7 separate regions of the Homo sapiens genome follow, and all the other regions are linked to region 3. The links are contacts of gene promoters, found by promoter capture Hi-C in blood cells and fetal thymus (Javierre and others, 2016). All regions are on one chromosome and are shown on one strand. The core of a region is centred on a gene start or on the middle of the fragment in contact, and the rest is flanking DNA. Distances in the headings are between cores, read along the strand shown. Region 1 overlaps PLCG2 (phospholipase C gamma 2). Region 2 overlaps PLCG2 (phospholipase C gamma 2). Region 3 holds the start of CMIP (c-Maf inducing protein). Region 4 overlaps PLCG2 (phospholipase C gamma 2). Region 5 overlaps PLCG2 (phospholipase C gamma 2). Region 6 has its middle 2.1 kb from the start of GCSH. Region 7 has its middle 1.8 kb from the start of C16orf46.

Region 1 (3,014 bases), core at 431-2,930, 390 kb after region 3:
GAGACAGAATCTTGCTCTGTCACCCAGGCTGGAATGCAGTGGTGTGATCTCGGCTCACTGCAAGCTCCGCCTCCCAAGTACACGCCATTCTCCTGCCTCAGCCTCCTGGGACTACAGGTGCCTGCCACCACGCCCGGCTAATTTTTTTGTATTTTTAGTAGAGACTGGGTTTCACCATGTTAGCCAGGATGGTCTCGATCTCCTGACCTCGTGATCCACCCATCTCGGCCTCCCAAAGTGGTGGGATTACAGGCGTGAGCCACCGCACCCGGCCGAGAAGCGTCATTTTTATTCTGTGCTGTGGTGTGGTGCCTCTTCCTTTGCTTTTATGAGCTGCAGTTTTGATCAGCGAGTCCTTGCGGGTCAGCAGAGGGTCTTGAGAAAAGGTTGCTTTTACAACCTTAAGCAAGTTATAAAAGTCGTCTGAGACTCAGTTTCCTCATATAGAAGCCAGCCGTCACAGCCTCAGCCTTCCGAAGCTGCTGTGATGATTGAACAATGTGGCATTTTCCTGAGTGCCTGGTGAAGTCGGGTACATAGAAGGTTTCAACAAATGTGAATTTATTTCCCCTTAACTTGCATTCCTTTTTCTTTTCTGAATGCCGAGGTGGGTGGATCATGAGTTCAGGAGATAAGAGGCTGTATCTTACCAACTGCATTCTGATTTTACAGGAGATCACAGAATGAATTTCCTGTGTGGGCCATTCTCTCAAACATTGCTAGTCTCAGGAATAGTCAGAAAAGCACAGGACCTGGCTTTTAATGATGACAAGGACTGCCCCCTCTGCCCTGTCTTTTTTGTATCTGTGATTTTCATTCATTAATGGGGTAGTTAGTAGTTTTTATTTTATTTTATTTTTTTTGAGACGGAGTCTGGCTCTGTCACCCAGGCTGGAGTGCAGTGGCACGATCTCGGCTCACTGCAACCTCTGTCTTCCGGGTTCAAGCGATTCTCCTGCCTCAGCCTCCTGAGTAGCTGGGATTACATGCACACACCAACGTGCCCGGCTAATTTTTGTATTTTTAGTAGAGATGGGATTTCACCCTGTTGGTCAGGCTGGCCTTGAACTCCTGACTTCAGGTGATCTGCCCGCCTCGGCCTCCCAAAGTGCTGGGATTACAGGCGTGAGCCACCGTGCCTAGCCAGTTTCACCATGTTGACCAGGCTAGTCTCGAACTCCTAAGCTCAGGTGATCCACCCTCCTTGGCCTCCCGAAGTGTTGGGATTACAGGTGTGAGCCACCACACCCGGCCCATTTCTCTGTTTTATATTGCCATGATACCTTTGCCAAAAGTGAGAAATTAACATTACCACATCGCTATCAAAGTTCCAGAATTTATTTGGACTTTAACAGTTTCTCCTCGTATGTTCTCCTTCTGTTCCAGGATTCATCCAGGACACCACATTGCACCTAGTTTTTGTTTATTTCCATCGATATGTAGAGGTGTTTCTTTCTTTTGAATTGCTGTAGAGCATTCCATTGGTGACAAGAGCCATTTTGTCCACTCTCTCCTGCTGGGCATTTGTGCTGAGTCCCTTTCTCCTTTGAAATTGCAGAGGGTGCTGTGGTAGCTGTGGATGGGGAAGGAACCTCTGAGTGGGGGGGCGTGTGTATTTCCAGCCTCAGTAGTGAGTGCCAAATCGCTCTCTAGGGGGCTTATTCTACCTCTCGGTGGCATCCCCACTAGGTGCCAGGCACTTTCCTGCTGTGGACCCATGAACGGGCAGTGCTGTCTTGCCTTCAAGGAGTGGAGAGATTAAATATATAATAGTGGCCGGGTGCAGTGGCTCATGCCTATAATCTCAGCACTTTGGGAGGCTGAGGCAGGGGGATCACTTGAGCCCAGGGATTTGAGAATAGCCTGGGTAACATGATGAAACCCTGTCTCTACAAAAAGTACAAAAATTAGCCAGGCATGTTGGCACGCATCTGTGGTCCCAGCTACTTAGGAGTCTGAGGTGGGAAGATCACCTAAGCCCAGGAGGTTGAGGCTGTAGTGAGCTGTGATCATGCCACTCACTCCAGCAGTGTCTTGTCTTTTTCTTCTTCTTTTTTCTTGAGACAGAGTCTTGCTCTGTGGCCCAGGCTGGAGGGCAGTGGTGCTACTTTTGGCTCACTGCAACCTCCACTTCTTGGGTTCAAGCGTTTCTTGTGCCTCAGCCTTCCAAGTAGCTGGGATTATAGGCGCATGCCACCACCACTGGCTAATTTTTGTATTTTTATTAGAGACAGGATTTCACCACGTTGGCCATGCTGGTCTTGGAACTCCTGACCTCAAGTGATCCATAGGCCTCAGCCTCCCAAAGTGCTGGGATTACAGGCATAAGCCCCCATGCCTGGTAAGACTGTGTCTTAAAAAACAACAACAAAAAAATGTGTGGGGTGTGTGTGTGTGTGTGTGTATATATATATATACACACATATATTTTATATATGTATATATATGAATGAAATGGCAAAATCATCTGCCAAGGGCTGCAGCTGACTCCAGAGGACCCTGGAGGAGACTGACAGACACAGTGTGTGATAGTGGAGGGGGATGGGAAGGGTGAGGGGGGCATCGGGCTTCTGGATGACTGAGGGTATATGCAAGTGCAGAGACAGCGTGACTAGAATGTCCAGGCAGGAGAGGGGAGATGGACAGGCACTGCGGGTCATGAGGGTTTCAGAGAGCATACGCAGTGTGTCCCAGCTGGTGACAACCTTGCTCTTCCTACAACCAACCATACACATTTCCATCTTGGGGCCTTTGCATTTACTATTTGCTCTGCCTGAAATATTCTATCTCAGACATCAGCCCAGATGTCACCACCTCTGGGGAGGCCTCCCTGATAACACCTTCTATGAGAGCCCCTCCCTCCTGGTCACACACCATGCTTTGCTCTTCTTTGGTTTAGTTTTTGTAGCACTTGTGATTGCCAAGTGTAATAAATATTGACTTGTCTCTGTCTCCTCCTATTAGAATGTAATTCTTCGAGGCCAGGAATTTGGTCTGTTTTATTCATAGCTGTA
Region 2 (2,880 bases), core at 87-2,586, 420 kb after region 3:
CTCCAGCCAGAAGGGTCTGGATCTCATATTCTTGACCCACCCACCCCACTAATTTCACTTCTCCTTCTTGTGTGAGCTACTCGCTTGGAGGCAGTCAGGTGTGGTCATTATGGGCACACTGGGTTGGAGTTTGAGGCTAGCACAGATAAGGTACCAAACTGATCGGTGCCTCAGTTTCCTCACCTGGAAGATGGAGATGATCATGGTACCTGCCTTGTAAAATTGTTCAAACATCAAACAGGTGAATGTGCATATAAGGCACCACCTAGAACAACACCTGTCACCTGATAAGCACTATTGAAGTTTCAGCTTTTGTTACTATTGTTACTGCTGCTGCTGCTCCTTTTGCCTGGGACGTGTTCTCCCTTGCTTCCCTCCCTTTTCTTTTTTATTTTTGGAGATGGAGTCTTGCTCTGTCACCCAGGCTGGAGTGCAGTGGCGTGATCTCGGCTCACTGCAAGCTCCGCCTCCCGAATTCACGCCATTCTTCTGCCTCAGCCTCCTGAGTAGCTGGGACTACAGGCGCCTGCTACCATGCCTGGCTAATTTTTTTTGTATTTTTAGTAGAGACGGGGTTTCACCGTGTTAGCCAGGATGGTCTCGATCCTCTGACCTCGTGATCCGCCCGCCTCAGCCTCCCAAAGTGCTGGGATTACAGGCGTGAGCCACCACCGTGCCTGGCCCTCGCTTCCCGCTTCAGCTGAACCTCACTATGTGGCTTCGAAGAAACACTCATGCAGATTCCTGTGACCGAGCACTGGAATTTGATTCAAATCCAGGCTCTGCTGCCTGCCATCCAGCTCTAAGCCCTGAGTTGTGTACCCATGTGACACCCCACCCTTGGCTGTTCTGAGCCCTGGGGGTCAACCATGTGTACTTTGCAGAAGGTAGAATCTGGTGAACAATTAGGCAACTTTAATGCCTGGATGACCCCAGGGCAGCCTGGCACACAGTAGGTGCTCATGTAGGCCTTGTTCCTTCCCACTTCCCCTCCCTGGCCCTTAGTGACCTTGCCTTGCTCTGAACCCCAGTGGCATTAAAAGAAACCTTTATTTTTTTACTTATTTTTGGGGGTGCAGGGGGTCCCCACTTACTCTGCATCCCTCTTGTCTCTTCACAGTGTCAGACTAGAGTCAAATTCAGCTGGGTCTTTCCTGGCTGATTCTGCCAAGCCCGTCCTGTGGTTTTGGTTCCTCTGGGTGGCAGGTAGAGTCAGTAGGAGTCTTGTTCATCCATTCATGTGTGTCGCTAATTAGGTGACAAAGCATTTGGCTACATGAAGAGTGTCATAGTTACTCCTGATGTTTACCCAGGCTTCATTGAATTTCTTCACTTTGACATTCAGAGTCCTGGGCAGAAATCACATCATGTCAACACCTATATTGGGCCTTTGGCATTTCTGTGGCATTTTGTATTGAGATTATCTGGTCATTTGACATCATTTTCTGCCCACACTGAATCTCCTGCAAGACCTTCCTCCATGACCATTCCTGAAGGGTGGAGACCAGCCCTTCTCACTGGGACATCACCCTATACTGGGGATCTCCAGTGTAGGTGCCTCCTCATTGGGGCATCACTGTACGCTATAAATCTCTTATGTGACCTATGTCCCTGGACATACCTGAAGGGTGGAGACCAGCCCTCCTTATTGGGGCATCACCCTACCCTGTGAGTCTGCTATGTGACCCATGTCCATGGACATTGCTTGAGCCTTGCTCATTGAAGTGTCACCCTTACCTTGACTCAATGTCTTGTTCCCAGTTAGTGGTCCATAAATAACTGTTGACCAGGCTCTCTCATAGAGGGCTGCCTGAGGTGGGAACTGATGGGAGCAGCTAAATCCTGTGCTGTTGAAAACCCTCAAGGTGACAGAACTGGGTCTCCCTCTTTTGCAGCATCAGTCTCCGAGAGTTGAAGACCATCTTGCCCCTGATCAACTTTAAAGTGAGCAGTGCCAAGTTCCTTAAAGATAAGTTTGTGGTAAGTTTCATGGCTCAGCCTGGGAATTTTATGAATGCGGAGTGACTTAGCCTCTCTCATGAAGCCGTGGCTTGCCTTTGAGTTCCGTGGAATAGTGCACAAGAAAATCCTTTGCCTCCAGAGTACATCTTAGTTCAGACAGAGGGATCATGGACATATCTGAGGACCATCGTCTCAATCCTAGCAGAGAATGTAATCAATAAAGACCATGTTTACTGAGCTCTTGGACTTGGAACATCTACCCTCAGACCTGTTTTCCATTAGTCCAGCTTTCCCTATTTCCCTGACCATACTGCAGCCCATTTTTTCCCTAGTGAAATGAATGCATGTATGTCTTTTGGAAAATATTATGAAAGATTCCTTGTGTAGGGTACCAGGACCGTGGCATTTTGTATGCAAGTCCTGGTAGTGTAGCTGTCAGAGTTGGCTCTTTTTTCTTCTGTTTCTCCAACCATCCATCCTTCCATACATCATTAAATTTATTTTGTTGTGTAATCAAGTTATTGGTGGGTCTGGGCAGTAAAGCCACTCCATGAGTGATGGGATATAGTAGAGCAGGTGAGGCAAGGATGGAGACAATGGGCACCGATTTTTGCTTACAGGGAAATACTCATTCTTCTTAGGAAATGAGCAACCCTGCATCCAAACAGCCCCAGTTGGAGGACTCCAATGCCCATTTTCAATATCAGCTCCATTACAAGGTTCCTCAGTGCAAAAAGCTCATTTCATTTTTGTATTAATGAGCTCCTGGAAAAATTATCCCATTTTATTGCTTATCAAGCATCCTTTGACCTGCCCCCAATATTCCACATTAATCCAATAATAGAAAAAGAGAAAAGGGTAGGTCAGAAGAGGAGAGAGATGGGAGAAGCATTTACCATTGATTGCTACACAGTTGCC
Region 3 (3,008 bases), core at 122-2,621:
TTGTGCCTCCCCAAGGAGGCATCTCCTGGGCAGGCTGGATGTGAGTCTTCTTTCCTTGGTGAGGGATGCAGCCTGGGACCTGCCTTTCATCCCCTGCCTGAAACCCTGGCCAGGCTCGGGGAGAGGGTCCTCTGGGGAGCACCTTCATGCTGCCTGTTCTTGGGAGAGGGGGGGTGAATAATTTCCACCAACGGCACAGATGCTGTGGATATTCCGCAGTGTTCACGACGCAGTTCAACACACGCTGCACACATTCATGTGTTCACTACAGAGGCGCCTTCACTTAAAAAGGCAAAAATCTAGGGTTTTAACGTTATTAGCTGCAGGAGCACGTGGAGATAAGAAAACCTGGCTGAGGAGCTGAGCATTTGCTAGGTGGCCTTAGGTGCCGGCTGCTTGTGATGGCAGAAAGGGAGCTTTTTGCATCCAGGCTGCAGTTCCTGATACCCTGGGTCACAAGAGAATCGAATATGGTTCTCTCGTGGGCTGGTGCTGGGCCTGTGAACTCAGATAAAATGACCAGGTGGGGTCCCAGGGAAGGTGAAGTAGGGGGAGCTGCTGGGGTGCGCACAAGAGGGGTGGCTGTGTAGGTTGGGGGGTGCTTTAAGTGGGTTCCTAGAAGAGGCTCTGTCTCCCTGGGCAGAAGAAAGAAGGGGGATGGGCGGACCGTCCCCTCTCTCCAGAAGGTTTGAGGACCCCCAAGGCCAAAGCCAGCAGACGTCAAAGGCCAGGAGTTCGAGGCCGGCTGGGTCCCGCAGTGGGAGACAGGGCAGGGTGGGCTCATCCTCCGGATCACCGCGGGGACACTTTCAGTCGGGAAGGCGTCCCCGTCCCACGGCCCCATCTGGCCAGCCCGCTGGACAGCCTGGACAGCGGAGGGGGCGTCAGGGGTCGAGGGTTCCAGTCCCCGTCCTTCCACCCAGCCCCCGGCCCTCGGGTATCCTTCTTTACCCGTCCGAGTCCGGCCCGGGGGCGGCGGGGGTGGGTGAGGCGCGGGCCCCCAGGCTCCGGCAGCCTGGCTGGGCTCCCGCCCGGGCACCCGCGGGGGCGCGGCTGGCGTGACGTCACGCGCCCCGCCCCCGCGCCCCGCCCCCTCCCCACATTCCAGGCGGGGCGGGCCGGGACCCCGCGGGGCTCGCCCGCCCCAGCCCCCTCCCCAGGGGCTGCCCCTCCCGTCGGGCCGCGCCTCCCCGTCGTGGGCCGCGACCCCGCCCGGACCGCGGACTCCGCCCGCGAGAGGCCGAAGCCGCCGCGGCCGCCGCCGTTGCCGCCATTGACGTCAGAGGGGCGGGCACATGACCCTGCGGGGACCAATCGCGCGGGCGCCCCGGGCTCCGGGAGCCCGGCGCGCGGCCCGCCCCGCCCGCGGCCACTCTCGCCCGGACGGCCGCGCGGACACACGCTCTGTACACACGCGCGCGGCGGCGCGGGGCCCCGAGACACGCCCGCCCCCACCCCGCCGCCCCCACCCCGGCGCCCGCCCTCCGCGCCTGGCCCCGGCCCGCCCTCGGCCTCCCCCGCCCCTCCCCGTCGCCCGCCGAGCCCGGTCAGCCGCCGCGAGCATGCACCCGACGAGCTAGGAGGAAGCCCGGAGCCCCGCAGGAAGCGCCGAGGCCGGCCCAGCCCGCCGCACGCGCCGCCCCCCGCGGGCAGCGCCCCCTCCCCTGCGGGCGCCCCCAGCCCCACACCCCCCCACCTTCCCGGGGGGTGGGGGGGTGCGGGCCGCCGGATCCGGGGGCCCCGCCGCCCCAGCAGCCCAGGACAGCCCCCTCTCCCCGCCCCCAGCCCCCTCCCCCGGCGCGGCCATGGATGTGACCAGCAGCTCGGGCGGCGGCGGCGACCCCCGGCAGATCGAGGAGACCAAGCCGCTGCTGGGGGGCGACGTGTCGGCCCCCGAAGGCACGAAGATGGGCGCCGTGCCCTGCCGCCGGGCTCTTCTGCTTTGCAACGGGATGAGGTACAAACTGCTGCAGGAGGGCGACATTCAGGTCTGTGTCATCCGGCACCCGCGGACCTTTCTCAGCAAGATCCTCACCTCGAAATTCCTGAGGCGCTGGGAGCCGCACCACCTAACGCTGGCCGACAACAGCCTGGCGTCCGCCACGGTGAGTGGCTCTGCGCGGCTGCACCCCCGCCTCTCCTCGGGGCCCGAGATGCGCCCTCCCTGGCTGCCCCCTGGCGCTGCACCTGGAGCCCAGGGCCTGGGGGGCGGTGGGGGGTGCCGGGGGAACGGGGAGAACCAGGGCGCCTCGCTCCTGGCCTGCTCGCGGGGCTCGATTTTGGAGTCTGAAGCCCAAACCAGCCGACCGGGCTCAGGAGAGACCCTTAAAATGCTGGAGACTCGGCCCACCGCCAGGCTGGGTGCCTGGGGACCTTCTGCCCCCAGCTCTTGTGTTTCTGGTGGCTGGGACTCGAGGATGGACCCGACGCTGGGCCCTGATGGTGGTGGGGGTTCTCTCTGGAAGCCCCTGGCCCATCTGGATCTGAGGGGTGGGGGAGGGGAAAACAAAATACCACCCCTCAGATTTAAAAAAAAAAACAAACAACACAACAAAACCTCCAAACCCCCAAACCCAAAGAATTTCCAGAAGCCAGTTTCTCTGTTTGGTTTACCCGTCCTTTATTCTCTTTCCTGCCAGGGCTGGCAGGCAGAACGGGGTGCTTCCCTTTCTGAAAATCTCATTCGCACATTGAGAGGTTGGAAGTGGAGGGGGAGGGGGCAGTGGTCCTGGAATATCTCAGGACCCAGCGGTGGTCGAGTTCTAGCCTAGAAGCTGCTTGGTGGAGCCCTGGTCCGGCATTGTCTGTAGAGTGTGTGTATACGTGTGTGTTTTGTTGCTGGAGGTTTAATTTTGTTATTGTTTTTAAATACATGGGTAGGACTGGGTCAGCTGGATGAGTCGGAGAGGAAAAACCATTGATCTGTTTCTGAAATCAGATCTGCAAATGGTGGCCTTCTTCGTACGTGGAGAAAGACAGCTGTGGTGGGGTCGAGGGGAGAGTGGGGG
Region 4 (2,984 bases), core at 129-2,628, 490 kb after region 3:
TATTTGAACAGCTGCCTCACATTAATTTGGGGAAAAGGTGAAATTCATTCCCCACCTAGAAACTCCTGGCCTAGGGGGCCAGCGTGCTCATGCCTGACTTACAGCAGGCGTTCACTTTCCTTCCCAGATAAGTACATGCAGATGAATCACGCATTGTTTTCTCTCAATGGGCGCACGGGCTACGTTCTGCAGCCTGAGAGCATGAGGACAGAGAAATATGACCCGATGCCACCCGAGTCCCAGAGGAAGATCCTGATGACGCTGACAGTCAAGGTAAAGCCAGCCCTCCCTTCCTGCCAGGGGAGCCAGCCGCCCTCCCTGGGGGCTGGGCCGATGCTGTCTTGAGAGCAGGGAACCCATGTCTAGGGAGGCTGGTTGTCTTGTTTAAACGATCCCCATTCAGGCAGTGTTTGAGGATCTTTCTTTCTTACAGTACACTCCGGGGTCGTTCTGGGAGAAGAGGGAAGAGAGGGGAAACCTCCTCAAACCCACTTCCCCTTGTCCTCTGTGGGGGTGAGGTATGACCCTATCTTTCTGGGGTCCTGGTGAGGTCAGCCTCTGGCCGGAAAGAGAAAGAAAACATGGGAAACAGCCATTTGGTCTTAATGGAGAAGTTTTTTCCCTTACTTTGTCCAATTCCAGGGCTTTTTAAAATTCATCTGACTTTCAGAGAAAGTGTTGTTGCTTTGTAAGAATTTTTGAAAAGTAGAGAAATGAATTGCATTTCTCCTAAGGTTAAGGGCGGGCGGGTGGTAGGGGGAAGAAGCATACGTAAACACAGGCCTTTAAATAAACAGCAGTTATAAAAAGAATGCCACACTGTTCCTCAGCCTTTCCTAGGGGTGTGGAAATCCAGTGATTAAGCTCTGCCTTGATCAGAGGCACCTGCTTGGGCATGGATGTGTGCATTCATGAGCTCAGGTGAGTTTTACCTGTTGAGTCAGGTGGCATATGGGGCCGAGACCCAGGCTGATGCTGAGGAACTGTGGGATCTACCACAGTCCACCTTCATCCACTGCAGAAGGTTGCTCCGGCTTTTCCAGTGAATCTAGGAAAATTAGGGCTGGCATTGAACTCATCCAGTGTCACTCTAGAACCCAGCTGCAATCCACGCTAGGCTGCCTGTTCAGGACCCCAGGGGGGTTCCAATGCTTCCCTTTGGTGTCCCAGGTTCTCGGTGCTCGCCATCTCCCCAAACTTGGACGAAGTATTGCCTGTCCCTTTGTAGAAGTGGAGATCTGTGGAGCCGAGTATGACAACAACAAGTTCAAGACGACGGTTGTGAGTAAGTCAGTCACCTTGGCCCCTCTGCTTTTAAACGTCCGGCCAGTGAATCCTTTGTGGGAGTGCTCTTCGTGGGGGATTTTGCAATGCTCTTTAGTTGTCCCAGGGTTTTCTTTCCTCCCTCTTGCCCACATGGTTCAGCTTGAGGAGGGGATACATACAAAGGGCCACTTTCTGAAATCCTTAGACTTTCCCCAGTGCTGTTTGCCTGCCTGTAACTCAAGTCCGGAATCGTAGGTGAGGCCCTGACACTAGGTTGGTCCTCTCTGTGCAACAGCCCAATCTGATTAATCTCCTGAGTCAAAGGCCAAGAGGCAGAGACACAGAGAGAGGGGGTGAACCTACGTGGCTGACCTGACCCAGAGGATCAGCCTAACCTGGGAGATCTTAGCCCCTAGAGGGCAGGAGGGACAAGAGGAATGCTTGCTCTTCCAGGAAAAGCCAGGAGGGAACCGTGATTGGTGGGCCTTCTAAAGCACAGGATCCTTGCCCCTGGTAAAAAGTAGCCCAATGAACAACTCAGATGCTGACCAAATAAACTGGCATTTATGGAGAGTGGCAGGATTGCTGCTTGCCTGCTCTGTGAGGCTGGGCTCTCCCCTGCCAGCTGTAGAACCCCCTGCTGGTGGATGTGGCTCCCAGGCTCTCCTCCCCTTTTGTCTTTTCCAAAATCCACCTTCCTGCTCTGCAAACAAACACCTCCCCCGTTCCCTTGTCCCTGATCCTGGGGCGGGGAGATGGGAGGTGGTCTCCTTCCTCTGCTCACCAAGGGACCAGCCTGCAACAGCAGCTTCCAGGATTGCTCAAGGTGGGGTGGGGGAGTGAAGATAATTATTCAGATTTTCTTAGATCTTGGCATAGATGCATATTTATTTACATGGTTGCTAAGGGGATTCACAGCTGAAGGATGCGGAGATTGTCTTACCAGAAGGGGGCAGCTCCAATGTGGCCTCTCATGAGCTTTGATCTCCTTCCAGATGATAATGGCCTCAGCCCTATCTGGGCTCCAACACAGGAGAAGGTGACATTTGAAATTTATGACCCAAACCTGGCATTTCTGCGCTTTGTGGTTTATGAAGAAGATATGTTCAGCGATCCCAACTTTCTTGCTCATGCCACTTACCCCATTAAAGCAGTCAAATCAGGTAAGAGGCATTTTAATTAAGATGTTCGATTTGGGCTGGCGTTGTACTTTGGTTTGGCTGCTGGCTTCAAAAAGAATGAAAAATGATTTTTCCTGGTTTGGATGGAATCACTGTAAAACCGATTGGGTGGCTTGGAGAGCAGGTGTACAGCCTGTCGTGTAGCACACAGGTGGGAGGAAGTGGGTGACAGGGGAGGCTATGCCCCTCAAAGTGGGATGTTTACAAGCAAAACTGGATTGTTAGTGGATCCTCAACCTGGCACTGCAGTTTGATTTCATTTTGAAATATTACATGCGGTTTGCTTCTCCCTAGCTAGGGCTAAGTCTGGTTTGATCTCCCCCTCCTGCTCTCTGGCTGGCAGTGTGAGAGGGTGGCAAGGGAGAGACCTTTGGCATCTTGGGGGGGGAGTAACAATCTCGAGGGTCCAACTCCCCAAACCCTTCAGAATTCACCTTCTTCTTCTATAAAATTGGGTGGGTTAATTTACTTCTTTGAGTTGTTACAGTTTTCTTCCCTGCTGAAGAAAACACAAGATCCCTTCATGGTATAAGAAGG
Region 5 (2,849 bases), core at 292-2,791, 370 kb after region 3:
GAGTAGGTGGGACTACAGGCACTCACCACCACGCCCAGCTAATTTTGTATTTTTAGTAGAGATGGGGTTTCACCATCTTGGCCAGGATGGTTTCTATCTCTTGATTCTCGTGGCATGCCTCAGCCTTCCGAAGTGCTGGGATTACGGTGTGAGCCACCGTGCCCAGCCCATGCTTCTCTCCTATCCCAGACGACTCTAGTCTATAGAACACGTAACGTGGCCATGAGCAGCCTCATAAGAGACCGTTTTTCTCTCAGCATCTATGCTTGGCCTTCGTTATTTGCAGCATCAGTATTGGTGAATTTGCCTTTCTGCTCCAACTTATTTGCAACCTGCAAACCAGTAGTTCTGGCCCTTCTGTGGTCATTCTTGGTGATGCAGACTGGTGAAAAATTTGGGTCACCCATTCACACATGCCCTGCTGAGGTCAAACAAGATGACACTCTGCCTTCCTGTTTTAGCTTTCTTTTTGCAAACAGGTGTCCTTTCTGCCGTCCACTTAGTGCCTTATTTTCTGCAATTTCTTTCTTTTTATTTTTTGCTGGTGATGTTGCTCTTTAAAATGGCCCTGAGCAAAGTGCATTTATTTCTCATTAATTCATTCTTCCTGTTATTGATTTATTCAGTGACTATCTATGGATCATTTGCTCAGGGCAAAGCACTGTATTGAGTTCTGATAGAAGGAGACAGGGTCTTTAATTTCATCGACCTTATTGTTTAGTGGGAGAGGCAAGCACAACATTGATCAAATAATTTTGTACATGACTATATTTATAACGAAAATGAAGGTAACTTTTGCTTCCCTCTCTAAGAGGCACCAAGGGAGGTTATGCACCTGAGAAGCAGCCCAGGGAACAGCAGCGAAACTGATCTAACAGTGGCCTTCCTGGCCCTAGTGGCTGTGCTTTGTGGTCTAAGGCCACATTTAACCTGTGTACCAGAGGGACATGAGTGTGCACTTCCTGGAATGACCCTGAGGTGTTCAGTGTGCTGGGGAAGGTCATATGGCACCACGTATGACAGCAGTGTTGGGGTTGAACAAGCCTGGGCTTGCCTCCTGAGTCTCCCATTCTGTCTGTGTGACTCCCTCCTTGGGTCTCAGTGTCTGCATCTGTCAAATGGGCACACCGGTGGTACCTTCCTCGTGTGTGGGTGTAAAGACTAGAGATCGGGTATGTAAAACCTTTAGGTTAGTGCTCAGTTATGAGCACTTTGGTTGGCAGTATCATCGATAAGGGATGGTTTTGCACGTCGGGGTTCAGGACTCAAAAGGGAAGGCCATTCCCAGTGTTAGTCACCTGAGAAGATGATGGATTCCCTAGGCTGGGAACTGGTTTCAGGATGATGTTTCCGTTTTCTTTTTTCTTTTTTTAGGTATTTCTCCTAGTGCTATCCCTCCTCTAGTCCCCCAACCCCTAACAGGCCCCAGTGTGTGGTGTTCCCCTCCCTGTGTGCATGGGTTCTCATTGTTCAACTCGCACTTAAGAGTAAGAAAATGTGGTGTTTGGTTTCCTGTTCTTGTGTTAGTTTGCTGAGAATGATGGTTTCCAGCTTCATCCATGTCCCTGCAAAGGACATGAGCTCATCCTTTTTTATGGTTGCATAGTATTCCATGGTGTATATGTGCCACATTTTCTTTATCCAGTCTATCATCGATGGGCATTTGGATTGGTTCCATGTCTTTGCTCTTGTGAATAGTGCCGCAATAAACATATGTGTGCATGTGTCTTTATAGTAGAATGATTTACAATCCTTTCGGTTTATACCCAGTAATAGGATTGCTGGATCAAATGGTATTTCTGGTGCTAGATCCTCGAGGAATTGCAACGCTGTCTTCCACAATGGTTGAACTGATTTACACTCCTACCAACAGTGTAAAAGCATTCCTATTTCTCTACATCCTCTCCAGCATCTGTTGTTTCCTGACTTTTTTTTTTTTTTTTTTTTTTTTGAGACGGAGTCTTGCTCTTTTGCCCAGGCTGGACTGCAGTGGCGCTATCTCAGCTCACTGCAAGCTCCGCCTCCTGGGTTCACGCCATTCTCCTGTCTCAGCCTCCTGAGTAGCTGGGACTACAGGCACCTGCCACCGCGCCTGGCTAATTTTTTGTATTTTTAGTAGAGACGAAGTTTCACCGTGTTAGCCAGGATGGTCTTGATCTCCTGACCTCGTGATCCACACGCCTCAGCCTCCCACAGTGCTGAGATTACAGGCGTGAGCCACCGCACCCGGCCTGTTGTTTACTGACTTTTTAATGATCGTCATTCTAACTGGCATGAGATGGTATCTCATTGTAGTTTTGATTTGCATTTCTCTAATGACCAGTGATGATGAGCTTTTTTCCTACGTTTCTTGGCTGCATAAATGTCTTCTTTTGAGAAGTGTCTGTTCATATCCTTTGTCCACTTTTTGATGGGGTTGTTTTTTCTTGTAAATTTGTTTAAGTTCTTTGTAGATTCTGGATATTAGCCATTTGTCAGATGGATAGATTGCAAAATTTTTCTTCCATTCTGTATGTTGCCTGCTCACTCTGATGATAGTTTCTTTTGCTGTGCAGAAGCTCTTTAGCTGAATTAGATCCCATTTGTTAATTTTGCCATTGCTTTTGGTGTTTTAGTCATGAAGTCTTTGCCCATGCCTATGTCCTGAATGGTATTGCCTAGGTTTTTTTCTAGGGTTTTTTATGGTTTTAGGTCTTATGTTTAAGTCTTTTATCCATCTTGAGTTAATTTTTGTATAAGGTGTAAGGAAGGGGTCCAGTTTCAGTTTTCTGCATATGGCTAGCTGGTTTTCCCAACACCATTTATTAAGTAGGGAATCCTTTCCCCGTTGCTTGTTTTTGTCAAGTTTG
Region 6 (3,116 bases), core at 565-3,064, 350 kb before region 3:
ACTTGTCAGAACTGTGGTGCCACCCATTTTTACACCAAATATGGGTGTTCCCGGAATTGTTGTGGTGCCGGTGGGTGTGTGACTTAGTATGTTAATGAGTCCTAGGTGAAGCCTAGGTCAAAGCCACACCACGTTGGGTCCAGTTGGTTTTAGCCAGGTTGACCCACACCCTGGTTTTTCAGGGTCTTAGCCCATAGCTTGTGCAGCTATTTCAACAGTTTCCTTTTGTTAGACAGAACTGCAGCCTGGAAGTTTCTATTCTCCTTCAACTGCTCTGTAACGTTCCTGTCTCAAAGAGCCCCAGGGACCCCAAACAGGACCGGCAGAATCCAGAAGCTTACTTAAAAAGGAATAAAGACTTGTCCAAGGGTCATAAGTGGCTTCTTGGTGGAGACTGGACCCAAGCCAGTCACTAATGCAGAAATATTCAAAACGCAGAGAGCTGAGACCCAGTGTGCACAATTCCTTGTTTCATCGGCCAGCGGTGTGACCAAGGCCTTCCGAGAAAAGCCGAAGTCATCATCCCAATCCAAGAAGTCAGAAAAAAATTAGGTTCTGGGAAAAACCTCACCTTTAACACAGATTTTATGGAGTGGCCATGAGTCAGCAAAGAAATACTGTTCTGAAAAACACCTTAAGCTACACACACACCTTTAGTACTGTTACAGAAAGGGCTCCCAATCCAGACCCCAAGAGAGGGTTTTTGGACCTCATGCAAGAAAGAATTTGGGGAGAGTCTATAAAGTGAAAGCACGTTTAATAGAGAAGTAAAGAAAAAAAAGAATGGCTTCTTCGTAGACAGAGCAGCAGTATGGCTTCTCGACTAAGTGTACTTATAGTTATTTCTTGATTGTATGCTAAACAAGGGGTGGATCATTCAAGAGTTCTCCAGAAAAGGGGCAGGGATTTCCTAGAACTAACGGTTCCTCCGCTTTTTGGACTATAGGGTAACTTCTCTGGACGTTGCCATTGCATTTGTGAACTGTCATGACGCTGGTGGGAGTTGTTTTTTTTTTAACATGCTAATGCATTATAATTAGCGTATAATGAGCAGTGAGACCTACCAGAGGTCGCCATCTTGGTTTTGGTGAGTTTTGGCCAGCTCCTTTACCGCATCCTATTTTATCAGCAGGGACTTTGTGACCTGTATCTTGTGCCAACCCTAGCTCATCCTGTGACTAAGTGAGGCAGGTGAATCACTTGAGGTCAGGAGTTCGAGACCAACCTGGCCAACATGGAGAAACCCCCGTCTCTACTACAAATCCAAAGTTTAGCCAGGCATGGTGGCAGGTGCCTGTAATCCCAGCTACTCAGGAGGCTGAGGCACGAGAATCACTTGAGCCTGGGAGGCAGAGGTTGCAGTGAGTCGAGATCACGCCACTGCACTCCAGCCTGGGTGACAGAGCGAGACTCTGCTTCAGAAAAAAATACAAATAAAAAGAATGCCTAACCTCCTGGGAATGCAGCCCACCAAGTCTCAGCCTCATTTTACCCAGCCCATATTCAAAATGGAGTTGTTCTTGTTCAAACACCGGAAACAGTACCATAGGGTGCACACCATGGAGTGTGTGTGTGTTTGGGGAGCCCATACGTTGTTGCACTGAGCTTCTGCCCTGCTATGAACTTAGGGTTGCCACCACATCTGTGCAGTGGCTTGCAAGGGCCGTCATGCCCACTTTCTTTTGAGCAAATCATTCCCATCTATTGAGCCTTTGCTATGTGCCTGGCACTATGCACACATCTTTTTAATCCTCTCCAAACCTCTTTCTGGCAGGTGTTACACTCATTTCATAGATGAGGCTCAGAGGTGAAGGCACTTCCGAGGAGTGGGATCGGGGAGGCGTTTTTGTGGCTTAAGTAGCTCCTAGGTGGCAGTAGTAGACCTTGGCCTCTACACTGATTAGAAAGCAACTCTTCTTTTTTTCTTTTTTTTTTTCGAGACGAAGTCTAGCTCTGTCGCCCAAGCTGGAGCGCAGTGGCGTGATCTTGGCTCACTGCAACCTCTGCCTCCCGGGTTCAAGCAATTCTCCTGCTTCAGCCTCCCGAGTGGCTGGGACTACAGGACCACGTGCCACCACGCCCGTCTAATTTTTGTATGTTTAGTAGAGATGGGGTTTCACTATGTTGGCCAAGCTGGTCTCGAACTCCTGACCTTGTAATCCACCCACCTCGGCCTTCCAAAGTGCTGGGATTACAGGCATGAACCACCGTGCCTGGCCAGCAATTGCTCTTAAGCTCTGCTCCGCTTGCTTTCGTTTGGGATGCTGACTGGATCACGCTGGTCTACCCTGCACTACAGATCTTGGCTACCTTCTCTAATGTCAAGATGTTGTTTTCTATTGTTGTTTCATTACAAGACAGTGCAGCATCGTGCCACTTACACCCTAACATATTTATTCTCAGCTTCACTAACTCATGTGATGGGAAGAAAAAGATCACACATCAACATCAACATATGGGCTACAAAAAGGCCCTTCCACCAAAAAATATGACATGTGTTTTTCTTTTGGTAAAAAGCATTGAAGACAGTCAAAATTTTTTTTCTTTTTCTACCTAGTAATCTTTGTAACCTCCTGGTTTGAGATTTTAAAGGTCATCTCGTTGCCCATTGAGTATAAGCTCTGGAAAATTCCAGGTGGTCATTTCTTCCAGGTGTTTTGAGAGGGGCCCATTCATCTCTTTGAGCTGATAGACATATTTTCCTCTTATAACAATACAGTAGACTGGGTGCGGTGGCTCATGCCTGTAATCCCAGCACTGTGGGAGGCCTAGGTAGGCAGATCACTTGAGGCCAGGAGTTCAAGACCAGCCTGGCCAACATGGTGAAACCCCGTCTCTACAAAAAAATACAAAAATTACCCAGGCATGCTCTTGTGTGCCTGTAGTCCCAGATACTGGGAAGCCTGAGACACAAGAATCATTTGATCTTGGGAGGCAGAGGTTTCAGTGAGCTGAAATCATGCCACTGCATTCCAGCCTGGGCAACAGAGCAAGACCCTGTCTCAAACAAACAAACAAACAAACAAAAAAACTTTTATAAACCAGTATTCCCCATATTTATTTGACCCAGAAACATTTTTGGAGGAATGACACCTGTTCTGGTTTGAATTGTGGCT
Region 7 (3,265 bases), core at 560-3,059, 370 kb before region 3:
CCCTTGTGCCTGCTAGGATATTTAGCAGATGCCAGGCGGCCAGAAACGTCCTCACTTTTCTCCCTCGGCCCTCTGGGGAACCGCCGTGAGCGTTTCCCACGGACACAAACTTAACAGGCCCAGAACGTCCAGGGAGGACGCGTTGTGAGCCTCAAAGAGCCCACTTACGTGACCGACAGCACCAGGCCGACGGGCACTCGCTGAACTGCTGGCCCGGAGCAGCACAGCTCTTAAGTGGGCAGTGGCATCTTTTATACAAATAAAGGAAGGTGGCCCCACGTCCCTAAAACAACAGCTTGCTGAAGAGAGATCGCAAAGCATCCCCCACTCCAGCTCGGGTCTGACTCCAAAGCCCTTCTGCTTTAGAAAGTGTGACTATTTCTGCTGTAGAAAACCGGTATCTAGGCCAGGCGCGGTGGCTCACGCCTGTAATCCCAGCACTTGGGAGGCCGAGGTGGGTGTATCACCTGAGATCAGGAGTTCGAAACTAGCCTGGTCAACATGGCGAAACCGTGTCTCTACTAAAAATACAAAAATTCGCCGGGTGTGGTGGCGGGCGCCTGTAATCTCAGCTATTTGGGAAACTGAGGCAGGAGACTGGCTCGAACCCGGGTGGCGGAGGTTGCAGTGAGCTGTGATGGCACCACTGCACTCCAGCCTGGAGAGCAAAACTCAAGTCTCAAAAAAAATTTTGGTATCTAAGTTCTCTAGCACTGTGATTGCTCCAATGAGACGGATTCAGCTATAATTCTATTCCAACTTTTTTCATACGTGTAAGCTTAGGTACCTTGTTCACATAAATAGGAAGATGCAAATAAAAGGGGTTTTATTGTATCTCAAGCTAGTAAGTATTAACCAAAAACATTTAAATGTTTTATCAGTTGACAATTTGTTTTGGTCTTCCTTCAGATCTATTGAAAACAGCTGGGCACCGTGGCTCACACCTGGAATCCCAGCTGAGGCAGGAGGCTCCCTTGAGCCCAGGAGTTGAAGGTTGCAGTAAGCTATGATTGTGTCACTGCACTCCAGCCTGGGAAACAGTGCAAGACCTTGCATATTAGAAAAAAGTTTCTGGGAAGTATACCAAAAGTCTTAACTAAGATTTGCTAAATGAATATTAATTAAATAACCTAACGGCAAGTACATGGGGAAGTTGGAGGATCTAGAACCTGACTTCCTTCACACTAACTATTCCTGCATTTAGCAGGTAAAAGCCCGATAGCATGATTGAGTGGAAACATGAAGGGACAAGGGTTTGGCTAGTTATGTTTATAAAAAGTCAACATAGGAATTGAGTCAAGATACCAGAAACTCTACTTATAGTAAGATCCCACTTTGCAAAAACGGAGAATGGAAGCGTACAGAACTGTACCTTCTCCTCAATTTTGCTGTGACTGTAAACTTCCTCTAACACATAAAATGTATTTTAAAGAAAAAAAGCCAGGAGTGGTGGCTTGCGTCTGTAATACCAGTTACTCACAGGAGAGGCTAAGGCAGGAGAATCACTTGAGACCAGCTTGGGAAGTGTCACAAGACCCCATATCTATTTTTTAAAATTAAAGGGAGATGGGTGGGTGCGGTGGCTCACACCTGTAATCCCAGCACTTTGGGAGGCTGAGGCGGGTCAATCACTTGAGGTCAGAAGTTCAAGACCAGCCCAGCCAACATGGCGAAACCCCATTTCAAAACCCTAATACAAAAATTAGCCGGGTGTGGTGATGGACGCCTGTAATCCCAGCTACTCAGGAGGCTGAGGTGGGAGAATCACCTGAACCCGTGAGGTGGAGGTTGCAGTGAGCCAAGATCGCACCATTGCACTCCAGCCTGGGCGGCAGGAAAGGCCTGTTGCAGGGAAGAAAGAGGAATTTAATCCTGGTGTAAAGAAAGGCACCTCTTTAAGTATGGGAAGGAAGGTGTGATTTGGTCTGAAAGAACACAGTAAAAAAGACACGCTTGTAGTTAGCATAATTTTTTAAACTGTGCTCTTTTTAGTAGCCCCAGAAAAACTATAGAAATTGGAAAAATTCAGCAGCTGGGCGCGGTGGCTCACGCCTGTAATCCCAGCACTTTGGGAGGCCGAGGCGGATGGATCACGAGGTCAGGAGATCGAGACCATCCTGGCTAACTCAGTGAAAGGCCGTCTCTACTAAAAATGCAAAAAATTAGCCGGGCGAGGTGGCAGGCGCCTGTAGTCCCAGCTACTCGGGAGGCTGAGGCAGGAGAATGGCGTGAACCCGGGAGGCGGAGCTTGCAGTGAGCCGAGATCGCGCCACTGCACTCCAGCCTGGGCGACAGAGCCAGACTCCATCTCAAAAAAAAAAAAAAAAAAAAAAAAAGAAAAAGAAAAGAAATTGAAAAAATTCAGAAATTCTGATTTGCTGAGGAACTGATCTGAATGGCCAGCCTCATTTTCATAGTAGTATGCCCATGCAGAGCTCCCTAGTGGTTTATTAAAACCTAAAACTGGCCAGGCGCGGTGGCTCACACCTGTAATCCCAGCACTTTGGGAGGCCGAGGCGGGTGGATCATCTGAGGTCAGGAGTTTGAGACCAGCCTGGCCAACATGTCGAAACCCCATCTTTACTAAAAATACAAAAATTAGCTGGGCATGGTCGTGGTCCGGGTGCCTGTATTCCCAGCTACCCTGGAGGCTGAGGCAGGAGAATTGCCTGAATCCGGGAGGTGGAGGGCCTGGGCAAAAGAGCGAGACTCCGTCTCAAACAAAACAAAAAACAAAACAAAACCTAAAGCTAACGACAAAACTACCTGGGAGGTGATAGCAGAAAAAAAATTTAACACTTGCAGGGTAACCTATTCAGTTTCTCAAGTTTTAGTTACTAGAAAGCTTTCTTCAAAACTTCTATTAATCTGCTCTACTAATGCCAAAACCATTCAAAAGGAATATGAGGTCATGAAAATTAAATTCCCTGGATTCAGTCAATTTGGAGGGCCATTCAAAGCCTGTATTTTTGGCAGCACTGTGACATCAATGACAGTGGATTTGGCTCTGTGTTCTAAATAGTGGAAGAGCAAGTTGCCAAATGTTCTGCTCTTTGAAAAAAGAGGGGTTGTTACAGAGCAAGTTATGTGTGTCTTTGGCAGGAAAAGGGAAAAATAAAAAACTGCCCACCTTCTTCAGAGACTATAACCACTCACGGACTTTCATACTCTAGAATGGCCACTTTTGCTTCCCACCTTTATTTAGAACATTCAACCTCCCCCTCTTCCCTGAGATTCCCATTAAAAATTTTTTTTTTTTTTTTTG

Evidence for each region. The method cuts DNA at HindIII sites, captures the fragments that hold promoters and counts their contacts. A CHiCAGO score of 5 or more calls a contact.
Region 1: a fragment that was not itself captured here is called in contact with the fragment with the promoter of CMIP in region 3 in 9 of 17 cell types (naive B cells, neutrophils, total B cells and 6 more); the score reaches 14.0 in naive B cells.
Region 2: a fragment that was not itself captured here is called in contact with the fragment with the promoter of CMIP in region 3 in 4 of 17 cell types (neutrophils, total B cells, naive B cells and 1 more); the score reaches 21.1 in neutrophils.
Region 4: a fragment that was not itself captured here is called in contact with the fragment with the promoter of CMIP in region 3 in 1 of 17 cell types (total B cells); the score reaches 5.0 in total B cells.
Region 5: a fragment that was not itself captured here is called in contact with the fragment with the promoter of CMIP in region 3 in 5 of 17 cell types (neutrophils, total B cells, M0 macrophages and 2 more); the score reaches 11.8 in neutrophils.
Region 6: a fragment that was not itself captured here is called in contact with the fragment with the promoter of CMIP in region 3 in 2 of 17 cell types (naive CD8 T cells and naive CD4 T cells); the score reaches 7.6 in naive CD8 T cells.
Region 7: a contact is called between a fragment that was not itself captured here and the fragment with the promoter of CMIP in region 3, in 2 of 17 cell types (naive CD8 T cells and naive CD4 T cells). The highest score is 6.2, in naive CD8 T cells.

What each region holds. Positions count from the first base shown.
Region 1 is chr16:81,828,264-81,831,277 of GRCh38, forward strand. The region is part of intron 2 of PLCG2 (phospholipase C gamma 2); the gene reads left to right. LOC124903731 (a long non-coding RNA gene) reads right to left here. Exons shown (of 2, transcript XR_007065139.1): 2 at 1,323-1,573. Among named protein-coding and RNA genes, the nearest start is that of PLCG2, 50 kb to the left of the region's middle. RefSeq lists an enhancer at 2,981-3,014. The HindIII fragment of the contact is 6,701 bases long and covers 1-3,014 here.
Region 2 is chr16:81,867,319-81,870,198 of GRCh38, forward strand. It overlaps PLCG2 (phospholipase C gamma 2), which reads left to right. Exons shown (of 33, transcript NM_002661.5): 6 at 1,896-1,980. Among named protein-coding and RNA genes, the nearest start is that of PLCG2, 89 kb to the left of the region's middle. The HindIII fragment of the contact is 9,375 bases long and covers 1-2,880 here.
Region 3 is chr16:81,443,437-81,446,444 of GRCh38, forward strand. CMIP (c-Maf inducing protein) reads left to right here and starts at 1,372. Exons shown (of 21, transcript NM_198390.3): 1 at 1,372-2,105. The coding sequence starts at 1,806. RefSeq lists enhancers at 213-745, 2,910-3,008 and silencers at 955-1,054, 1,165-1,514, 1,585-1,634, 2,065-2,364. The HindIII fragment of the contact is 9,361 bases long and covers 1-3,008 here.
Region 4 is chr16:81,937,631-81,940,614 of GRCh38, forward strand. It overlaps PLCG2 (phospholipase C gamma 2), which reads left to right. Exons shown (of 33, transcript NM_002661.5): 28 at 128-273; 29 at 1,171-1,285; 30 at 2,262-2,429. Among named protein-coding and RNA genes, the nearest start is that of SDR42E1, 72 kb to the right of the region's middle. The HindIII fragment of the contact is 7,086 bases long and covers 1-2,984 here.
Region 5 is chr16:81,810,117-81,812,965 of GRCh38, forward strand. All of the region lies in intron 2 of PLCG2 (phospholipase C gamma 2), which reads left to right. Among named protein-coding and RNA genes, the nearest start is that of PLCG2, 32 kb to the left of the region's middle. RefSeq lists enhancers at 130-249, 750-839, 930-1,249. The HindIII fragment of the contact is 4,423 bases long and covers 1-2,849 here.
Region 6 is chr16:81,096,917-81,100,032 of GRCh38, forward strand. No RefSeq gene overlaps it. Among named protein-coding and RNA genes, the nearest start is that of GCSH, 2.1 kb to the left of the region's middle. The HindIII fragment of the contact is 2,961 bases long and covers 335-3,116 here.
Region 7 is chr16:81,077,423-81,080,687 of GRCh38, forward strand. No RefSeq gene overlaps it. Among named protein-coding and RNA genes, the nearest start is that of C16orf46, 1.8 kb to the left of the region's middle. RefSeq lists enhancers at 1-239, 78-127, 240-898. The HindIII fragment of the contact is 2,067 bases long and covers 777-2,843 here.